Linked DNA regions of Homo sapiens: regions 1 and 2 are each linked to region 3. Evidence: promoter capture Hi-C in human tissues and cell types (Jung and others, 2019). All regions are on one chromosome and are shown on one strand. Each heading gives the region's core, a stretch centred on a gene start or on the middle of the fragment in contact. The rest is flanking DNA. Distances are from core to core; before and after follow the strand shown.

Region 1 (3,221 bases), core at 609-3,108, 180 kb before region 3:
TCCTTTTTTTTTTTTTTTTTTTTTTTTGAGATGGAGTCTCGCTCTGTCCCCCAGGCTGGAGTGCAGTGGCATGATCTCGGCTCACTGCAAGCTCCGCTACCCGAGTTCACGCCATTCTCCTGCCTCAGCCTCCCGAGTGGCTGGGATTACAGGTGCCCGCCATCACACCCAGCTAATTTTTTGTATTTTTAGTAGAGATGGGGTTTCACCGTGTTAGCCAGGATGGGCTCGATCTCCTGACCTCGTGATCTGCCCACCTCAGCCTCCCAAAGTGCTGGGATTACAGGTGTGAGCCACCACGCCCAGCCTCTTTATCATTTTTTTAAAGACAGTCTTGCTTCCTCACCCAGGCTGGAGTGCAGTGGCACAATCACAGCTCACAGCAGCCTCAACCTCCTGTGCTTAAGCGATCCTCCCAGCACACCCAGCTGATTATTTTTTGTAGAGATGGGGTCTCACTACGTTGCCCAGGCTGGTCTCAAACTCCTGGGCTCAAGCAGTCCTTCTGCCTAGGCCTTCCAAAGTGCTGGAATTACAGGTGTGTGCTGCCGAGCCCTGACCTCTCTACTGATTTTGACAAATAGCTTTCTTGAAACCCTAGAGAACTAATTGTAAACAAAAAAACACGTTGGGAAGGCTGGCTGGGAATCTCCAGTAATACAGTATCTCTGGATGTAGATGCTCTGGGATGAGCCAGTAAAGAAAGCTCAGGAAGAAGCGGGGATCTGTTTTCTATATTCTTCTTATTTGAGTTGCTCTTAAGACAGTACTTAAAAAGTAAGGAAAGGGCCAGGCTCAGTGGCTTAGGCCTGTAATCCCAGCACTTTGGGAGGCCGAGGCAGGCAGATCACCTGAGGTCAGGAGTTCGAGACCAGCCTGGCCAACATGGTGAAATCTTGTCTCTACTAAGAGTATTAAAAAAATTAGCTGGGCATGGTGGTGAGCGCCTGTAATCCTAGCTCTTTGAGAGGCTGAGACAGGAGAATCGCTTGAACTCAGGAGGTGAAGGTTGCAGTGAGCTGAGAGTGCTCCATTGCACTCCAGCCTGGGCGACAAGAGCGAAACTCTGTCTCAAAAAATAAAAGTGAGTAAAGATCGAAGTCATGAGAATGCTTTACTTTAGATTTCCCCATTTGGGCGCTTTCTTTACCTAACAATTATGCCATTCTATGACTGTTCCTCTCTGAGGCCATGCTAATTAATGATAAAGGGAGGATAAGCTTGCAGTAGGTAGAGATCAGTTAGAAGCTATGCTGACCCTTTCGGCTCATAGCAGAAGGATCAGGTGGATAATAGTCAGTGCTGTTTTATTTTTTGGCCAGATCTCATGCCAGTAATCCCAGCACTTTGGGAGGTCAAGGCAGGTGGATCGCTTGAGCCCAGGGGTTCAAGACCAGCATTGGCAACATGGCAAAAACCCTTCTCTACCGAAAATACAAAAATTAGGCAGTCTCATAACCTGGTCTCTAAATAAGCAAATAAATAGATTAAACTTTTCAAAAAGAAATGCTATTTATTTTTCTAAGACAAATTTTATATATATATATATATATATATATATATATATATATATATATTTTTTTTTTTTTTTTTTTTTTTTTTTTTTTTTGAGATGGAGTCTCGCTCTGTCACCAGGCTGGAGTGCAGTGGCGCGATCTCGGCTCACTGCAACCTCCGCCTCCCGGGTTCAAGCAATTCTCCTGCCTCAGCCTCCCGAGTAGCTGGCACTACAGGCGAGCGCCACCATACCCAGCTAATTTTTATACTTTTAGTAGAGATGGGGTTTCGCCATATTGGCCAAGCTGGTCTCGAACTCCTGACCTTGTGATCTGCCTGCCTCAGTCTCCCAAAGTGCTGGGATTACAGGCGTGAACCACCGCACCCAGCCTTGTAGATGGACTCTAAGTGCATTCTGTCTATACATGCCAGTTTTACAGTGTTTAGAAAACTTAATGATTACACTAAGTAAGCTTCCTTTCCTAAGGATGCTAGGAATAACCAGTTTAACCTCAAATTGGTATTATTTTAAACTCAAGCGGAGACGTAACTCTTCCTTGTCTTGGATTACCTGCCATCCAGGTAATTCTTTGGCCAGTTTTGTTGATCAATTTTGTTTCATTGATACAGTGCCATCTACTGACAAAAATTGGTAATCATAAGGCTTTAAGTCTGTCAGAAGTCAAAGAGTTGGGTCCGGGCACGGTAGCTCATGCCTGTTAATTCCAGAGTTTTGGGAAACCAAAACGGGCAGATCACTTGAGGTCAGGAGTTCGAGACCAGCCTGGCCAACATGCTGAAACCCCATCTCTACTAAATATACAAAAATCAACTGGGCCTGGTGGCAGGTGCCTGTAGTCCTAGCTACTCAGGAGGCTGAGGCATGAGAATCACTTGAACCCTAGAGGCGTAGGTGAGCCGAGATAGCACCATTGCACTGCAGCCTGGGCGACAGAGGGAGACTGTGTCCCCCTCCCCCAAAAAAGTCAAATTTGGATGAAGGACTAAATAAAATAGATTTATAAGGGACTAAAATTTCAACACTGGAAAAACCCTTAGATGTTACCTAGCTTGATGATGTATTTTATAAAGGAGTAAACTCAGATTCTATTATCTTTGATAACTACAGTTCTGTTTTCCCCACACTTGTTTTCCAAATTTTTACAGGGTTCCAGTTTAGAGAATTTCATGATCATTCTGGCATTTTTATGACTCTTCCTTAGTTTTTAGAAATAAATTGGAGGCCAGGTGTGATGGCTTATGTCTGTAATCCCAGTAGGAGGCTGAGGTGGGAGGATCACTTGAGCCTGGGAGTTTGAAACAAGCCTGGGCAACATATTGAGAACTTGTCTCTACTAAAAATTTAAAAAATTAGCCAGGCATGGTGGCGCACACCTGTGGTTCCAGCTACTCAGGAGACTGAGGCAGCGGGATCACTTGAGCCCAGGAGGTCAAAGCTGCAATGAGCCATAATTACTTCACTGCATTCCATCCTAGGTGATAGAGTGAGACACTGTCTCAAAAAAGAAAAAAAGTTGTAAAATAAACTAAATACAATAAGTTAACAAGAAATTTGTGAATCGTAAGTTCAATTCAGAAAAGACTGCATAAAGAACAAGAGAACATGGCTGGGCACAGTGGCTCATGCCTGTAATCCCAGCACTTTGGGAGGCCATGGCGGGTGGATCACTTGAGGTCAGGAGTTCGAGACCAGCTTGGCCAAC
Region 2 (3,060 bases), core at 540-3,039, 150 kb before region 3:
AAACCCAAAATATAGCAACCGATCATAGAAGAACTATCAAAGAAAGCTACTGATCACGAATGATCTCAGTTACTGAATATTAAATGTGCAATATCCTAAAATGTAGCTTGGTTTGAATAAGCAGACAATAACCAGGTCATCCAAAATATCTTACACCTTTGTTTTATTTACCAGCCCTCCTCCCCCACTACAGGCGCATTACCCAGCTTCTATTTTCACATGAGAAGCCCATTTCCTGTCTTAAAAGTAAAGCTGGATTTTCACCCCTCGGGAGAAAACCACCCATAACAGTTGTCTTTTCTCAGTTCAAAAAGGCAAGATTATTAAACAGTGAGAGTGTGGAAGGACAAAAGGACAATGTTCAGGCCACCACTTCACCCAGAAGAAGAATGCCTTTTGTTTTCTGAACTTTGAAATCTGATTTCCCTTTCCTATCCTCACAACTTACAAAAGAAAAAAAAGGAAAAGGGCCGACGCCTGTAATCCCAGCACTTCGGGAGGCCGAGGAGGGCGGATCACCCGAGGTCGGGAGTTTGAGACCAGCCTGAACAACATGGAGAAACCCCATCTCAACTAAAAATACAAAAATTAGCCGGGCGTGGTGGCGCATGCCTGTAATCCCAGCTACTCGGGAGGCTGAGACAGGAGAATCGCTTGAACCCAGGAAACGGAGGTTGTGGTGGGCCGATATCGCGCCACTGCACTCCAGCCTGGGCAACAAGAGCAAAACTCCGTCTCAAAAAAAGAAAAAAAAGAAAGAAAAGAAAAGGAAAGAAAAAAAGGAGAGGGATGGTGGGGGCCCTACTACGCAGGACTATTCCGTCCAGAATTTGCATAGGCAGGTTTTATTTTCATTCATATGACCTTCTGAGCCAAAGCAGAAGGATATGGCCACGTTCTCTAGCCAGACTGCCCAGTGCAGAGGAAGTAAATCTGTTTCTGGTCTCCACTTTTGAGCTTCCATTAATGTCACAAACCAAGACATACCGCCTCTCCTCTCCTGCGTTGTGACCCATCTACCAACTTCATTCTACAGGGGGAGAGCGAGCTATACGTACACACACGAACGTGCGCACACACACACACTCACACTCCCTCTCTCTGGTCAGAGTAAACACAATTGCGACCCAGAATTCCTGCTTACGCTACCCTCCCGTTCTCACGCAATTTATTACTAAAACCTCCCAGGAGCCAATTAAGTTCGAGGAACCGGACAAAGTCCCTTAAAAATCAAGTAGGTGCAGGGCCCATAGCCTGAGGCTGGTCCCACCCTGCCCGGATACCCGAGTCCGGCTGAGACCAAGTCGCCATGCCCACTCTCGGCGCCGGAGCTTCTAGCCTCCAGGGGCGGCCAGCGAACAAGTGCTACTTCCCTGGCCTTGACCCACCCTTACAGCAAACCCCACCCCGCCCTCCGTCCCGATGGCCCCACCCCACTCCCAAGTCCAGGCCTCACACCACGCCTTCTCGTGCCCTCAACCCTGCCCAGTCCATCCCACCCCGGAGCCAGCTTTCCTCTCGGCCCCGCGCGGGGCCCCTCCCTGTCAGGCCCAGGGCCGGGCTCTGGCGGGAACCCCGCTCGGCCCCCGCCTCCTGCACCTCAGCACCATCCCGTCGCCCCATAAGCCTCGGCCCCGCGGCGCTGCAACCCTCCCTTCTGGGAAAGGAATGTGCCCGATACCCACTGCTTAGCTCGGCGTCCGCCGCTGCCTCCACAGCAGGCCCTAAGCCCGAGTCCCGGCCTCGCCGCCGCCACCGCCGGCCGGCCTAGAGCTCGGAGCCTCCGCTTACCTCCCCGCCCCCTCCTGCTACCGCACTCGGAAACCCGCCCGCCGCAAACACCCTAGGAACAGTTTCTCCAATCAACGAGCCGAGGCCGGGGCCGTCGACGGATGTCCCTCTGATTGGCAGCAGAGAGGGCCCAATGGCTGAGTGTACCTCCTCATCCCCGGACCTGATTTCCCAAGACTGACATAATTCCCGGCCCAATGAGTACCTAGGCCCGCCCCGCGGTATGGACCCACCAATGAGGAGGGCGAAGGCCCTAGTGTCTGGCATTCTGGGCCCCTCGGCCGCGCCTTCGCGGCGGGCGATGTTAGTGGGCTTGGGCGTTGGGTGAAGTATCCAGGTTGGGCGCTTCCAGCGCTTTCTGTGGCGGGGGAATGAAGGCCTAGGTCAGGGAATAGGAAGGTGTATCGCCGCCAGAGTGCGGAACACCCTCGCCTTGAGGGTTCCCACAGTGACTTGCAAAAGTCTAGTGAGACCCGAGAATGCTGAGGCGGGACACGAAGCATGTGGTTCTTGTGGTTGCGACGCTCGTGCCGCCATCTTGGGTGCTGGCGGCGGAAACCGGTACCCCAACTTCCCCTCGGTGCGAACCTGGAGAAGCCACCCCAGCTGTGAGGGACGGTTGCGCCTCATGGCCCAGGCAAGGGTACCTTCGCTGGAGCAGTACCGCGGACGGATATCATGAGGGTGGTGGGACGTTGGCGGAACGTTGGCGGAACGTTGGCGGTGTGAGAGGTGTGGGGTAATGGCGATTTTTGTCATGGTAGAAACAGCCCAAAGGACCCCCCTCGTTTGGCCTCCCACGCAGCTTAGTCTTGCTTTTTTAGGGATGTTTCTCATTTTTTAATTTCTCCAGTCCCATCTGGTTATATTGCCAAAACATGTTTGTGACTCTCAAACGTTAGTTTACTCCCAGCATCACTTGGGGAGCTTGCTAAGCTACGAATTCCGAGGTCCCACTGGAGAGTCTGATTTAATGACCCTGGAGTGGCGGCCGGATAACCTGCCTGCTGGGGTGATTTTAACGCAGCTGATGCGAAGACCCCATTTAGGGAATCATTGGGTTGGCGTTTGCAATGCGTTCCTCCCAGCTATAGGACAAAGAGGTGTCAACTCAACTGTGTCTTCTTAGAAGAGCCCATTATTTATAGGTGAGTCATTAGTCCCTGTACAACTAAGGACAAGGCCAACTGATAACTCAGTAAATAATCGAGTCCATTTTGTGCTTGCGAGTTAGGGGCTTAATTTGGGGTGGTTTGCAGATTAAGTACT
Region 3 (3,106 bases), core at 114-2,613:
TGAAACTGAATGCCTTCTGGGGTACAGCATGAAACCGTTTTAGACAGTGCATGCCAGTGCACCTTGAAACAGTGTCCATCTGTAATGAAATCTGTAAACGGGAAACTTGGGCCAATTCATTGTTTAAAGCAGATCTACTGGCTCATACCTTTCTCTAGGAAACAATAAGTGAACAAGAAGTAACCTCAGAAGAAGAAAGAACTTTGGGAGAATGCACTGAGAAAGGCCAGACTGAGTCCCCTTGGATGAAGTTAATTAAGAAACAAACATGACAGGATATTGCAATCAAAACCAAGGAATGCAGTGAGGACAGGTTTCTCAGTTGCCCAGAGGAGAAAACATAGTTCCTTCTGAACTAAAATTAGAAAGCCGCTGGCAAGGAAACATAAGAAGCATGGATAAGAGGCTGAAAACCGTAAGTCAGCAATGGGGATGGAGGTGGGTACAGGAAGAGAGCGAGTATCTATTTTGTTTTATTTCTTCTGTAATTCCTTAAGATTGTTTGCGCCTGAGCTTTGGGACTGCAGTAGTCTCCCCTACGGGGCGTCAAGTAACAGGCTGGGAGCTCTGGCAAGAAGTTCTCAAACTTCTCACAATTCTGCTAAGAGCTTGCAGATATCTAGCTGGAAGATCAAGGATCCAAGTAAAAACATTAAAGGAAGGTTTTTGCCCACTCCCCGGTGAGAGGTCATCTGCCCAGGGAGTGCTCTCGTGTCCTGACACCATCGCCCGACTGGGGATATATCAGTAACCGGGCTGTCGTCGATGCCGAGCAGTGCCCATCTGGTTGGCAGCGTCCGGGTCTCAAGCGTTCCCTCGCCCCTCTCTGTTCTCCGGGGAGCCCTGAATCGCTGGTGGGCATCTACAGTTAAGAGTGCAGGAAGGCCTCTCAGACACGGGGCGAACACAAGGGCTGTTGGCTGCCTCCTCAGAGCCGACCCAGGCATAGTTCGCCCAGGCGGGAGAGCGGCGTTGAAGTGGGTCGGCACCCGTCCGAGGGGTGCCAGGCCACCCCGGTGCCCGCTCCTCTCGCCGGCCCCCGGAAGCGCCGCCCTCCCGCCCGGCGGGCTCCGAGGGGGCGGGGAGTCGAACGCCCCCTTCCGGGTGCCTCCGCCCGGCTGGCCAGCCCCGCTCCTCCTCCGGGCGGGAATCCTCCCTCCCCCGCCCCTCCTGAAGCCGGGCCCCGACGCCAGACCCAGCCCCAGGGGGGAACCCCCGGCCTCGGCTCCCTCTCCCCGCGGCCTCTGCCCGTCTTCCTGACCCTTGGGGGCCGGGAAGACCCCGCCGGCAGCGGCCGGGACCCACCGCTCATTACGACATCTTCCTCCCTGGCCTCCGCCGCCTCCGCCGCCACCGAGAGCCTGACACCGCCCGCCAAGCAACCGCCAATCCCGGAGCCCGCCACCGCCCGAGCGACGGCAGCCTTCACCAATAAGCGCTTGGAACATTGGGGACCGACAGCACTATTAACCAATCAACCAGAGGCGTCTAGAGCGACGTTGATTTGACCAATAGGTCTGTGCAATGTCACTGATGGACGGTAGAGCGCACCAACCGAAAGCCAATTGAATAATGAGTGACATGTGCATCAGCCAATTGGAGGGAGGCAAAGTCCCGCCCGCTGGGTGGTTGATGTACAGCAACAGGAAGCTGGAAGGGGAGGGGCTTAGCCGAAGAGTGCTTTTGTATTGGTCGAGGTTGACCTTCCACCCACCTCTAACCCAGAGGATGAATGATAGATCTGCCCTGAAGCCAATCAGAAGTCCTTAGGGTGAGGCCCACAAATGCCCCAGAAATAGCATATACATTGCGCCCTAAGTCCAGTCTCGCCCAGGTGTGGCAGGAGCTTTTACCTGCTCTTCGGCAGTAGCCGGCTGCCACTCAACCCCATGCCTGGTGAGTGGAAAGCCATCAACCTTTTATTTAGTCCCTCTCTCGTTGTCGCCTGGGGAGGGGCGACTTTGTACAGTGAGGCACTGGGGTCCGGCACCATAGTGGGAGTTGGGGTTGTTTACGCGACACTTCTAAGGGGATTTTCACAATCGGTTAAGCCCCCGTTAATCCTCACATGGTTATTGCGGCGACCCCCATAGCCCACGGTCCCAAACGTGTGCATCTGAATCATCCGAAGCTCTTTCTAAAGGCAGGCTCCCCTGGCCGCCTCTCCTAATCCGACTCGGTACTTCACGGGGCGTGCCTAGAATCTGCATTTTAGCAAGGGCCTCGCGTGGACAGAATTGCACGCTTGAGTTTGAGAAGTACTGCTTGGCCTCTGCCCCACTTACCCTTACCTTCTTGAGATGAGGTAAAGCACTTGGTAGGCACTAGGCGGGTAGGTTTATCTTTGCTCCCAAGTCTCTTCCGAGAACTTGGGAAGGCTGCCTAGCTTAGTGAGGGAATCCATTCTGGCTTCAGACCAGTCTGGGTTTGAAACCTACACATCCCACTAACTTAGGCAGGGTACCGAAACTCCCTGAGCTTCATGTCCTCATCAGTAAAACGAGGTTAATCACACCTACACCTTAGCGCGATGGCTTAAAAAAAAAAAAAAAAAAAACAAACAAAAAAAAACATAGTCCATCAAGAGAAATACATTTTGCATACAGACCAGTACACTGCTATTTGTATGAGAGTGTCATAAAGTTTCCGAAAACAATGCTTACTACTTGTGACGCACTGATAGTTTCTATGCTTATCCTATCCTATCTTATTCTCCTTCTTGTTGATCATGACTGGCAGTTTGAAAAACACTGCTAGAAAAGGTTGGTGTGATAATACAAAATGCAGAGCAGAATACCGGGTACACAGTAATTGCTGAATAAATGTTAATAGCCTCTTCCAGTCTTCTCCTCTCAGTGTTAGCCTTTGAAAAACAAGACTTTAGACAATAATACTCCTCTAGTAAAGATCCTTCATGGGATCCGTATCTCCTAGATAAAGCCCAAACTCCTTTCTAGGCAAAGTCCTCCCACTCTTTTTTCTTCTTAACCTCAGCATCCACCAGAGGACACACTCTTACTGGTGTATCTTTCATGCTTTATCTCCTCCCTCTACCCCCGTTCCCTTCCTACAAATCCTACCCTTTTCCCTCCAGGAAAGATTCCAG

Evidence for each region. Contacts are between HindIII fragments. The study calls those that stand out against the background at their distance.
Region 1: a fragment that was not itself captured here is called in contact with the fragment with the promoter of SP2 in region 3 in 2 of the 25 tissues and cell types used here (heart right ventricle and neural progenitor cells).
Region 2: the fragment with the promoter of NFE2L1 here is called in contact with the fragment with the promoter of SP2 in region 3 in 4 of the 25 tissues and cell types used here (hippocampus, liver, neural progenitor cells and 1 more).

The regions. Positions count from the first base shown.
Region 1 is chr17:48,079,308-48,082,528 of GRCh38, reverse strand. The region is part of intron 1 of CBX1 (chromobox 1); the gene reads left to right. Among named protein-coding and RNA genes, the nearest start is that of CBX1, 21 kb to the left of the region's middle. The HindIII fragment of the contact is 4,479 bases long and covers 1-3,221 here.
Region 2 is chr17:48,047,088-48,050,147 of GRCh38, reverse strand. NFE2L1 (NFE2 like bZIP transcription factor 1) reads right to left here and starts at 1,789. Exons shown (of 6, transcript NM_003204.3): 1 at 1,686-1,789. NFE2L1-DT (NFE2L1 divergent transcript) reads left to right here and starts at 2,095. Exons shown (of 2, transcript NR_170231.1): 1 at 2,095-2,523. It also overlaps a transcript of COPZ2 not described here. RefSeq lists a silencer at 1,380-1,659 and enhancers at 1,210-1,811, 2,070-2,309, 1,812-2,413, 2,380-2,569, 2,414-3,017. The HindIII fragment of the contact is 14,336 bases long and covers 1-3,060 here.
Region 3 is chr17:47,894,493-47,897,598 of GRCh38, reverse strand. It overlaps SP2 (Sp2 transcription factor), which reads right to left and starts at 1,363. Exons shown (of 7, transcript NM_003110.6): 1 at 1,306-1,363. The coding sequence starts at 1,312. SP2-DT (SP2 divergent transcript) reads left to right here and starts at 1,783. Exons shown (of 3, transcript NR_135480.1): 1 at 1,783-1,896. RefSeq lists silencers at 864-1,293, 2,842-3,106. The HindIII fragment of the contact is 13,929 bases long and covers 1-3,106 here.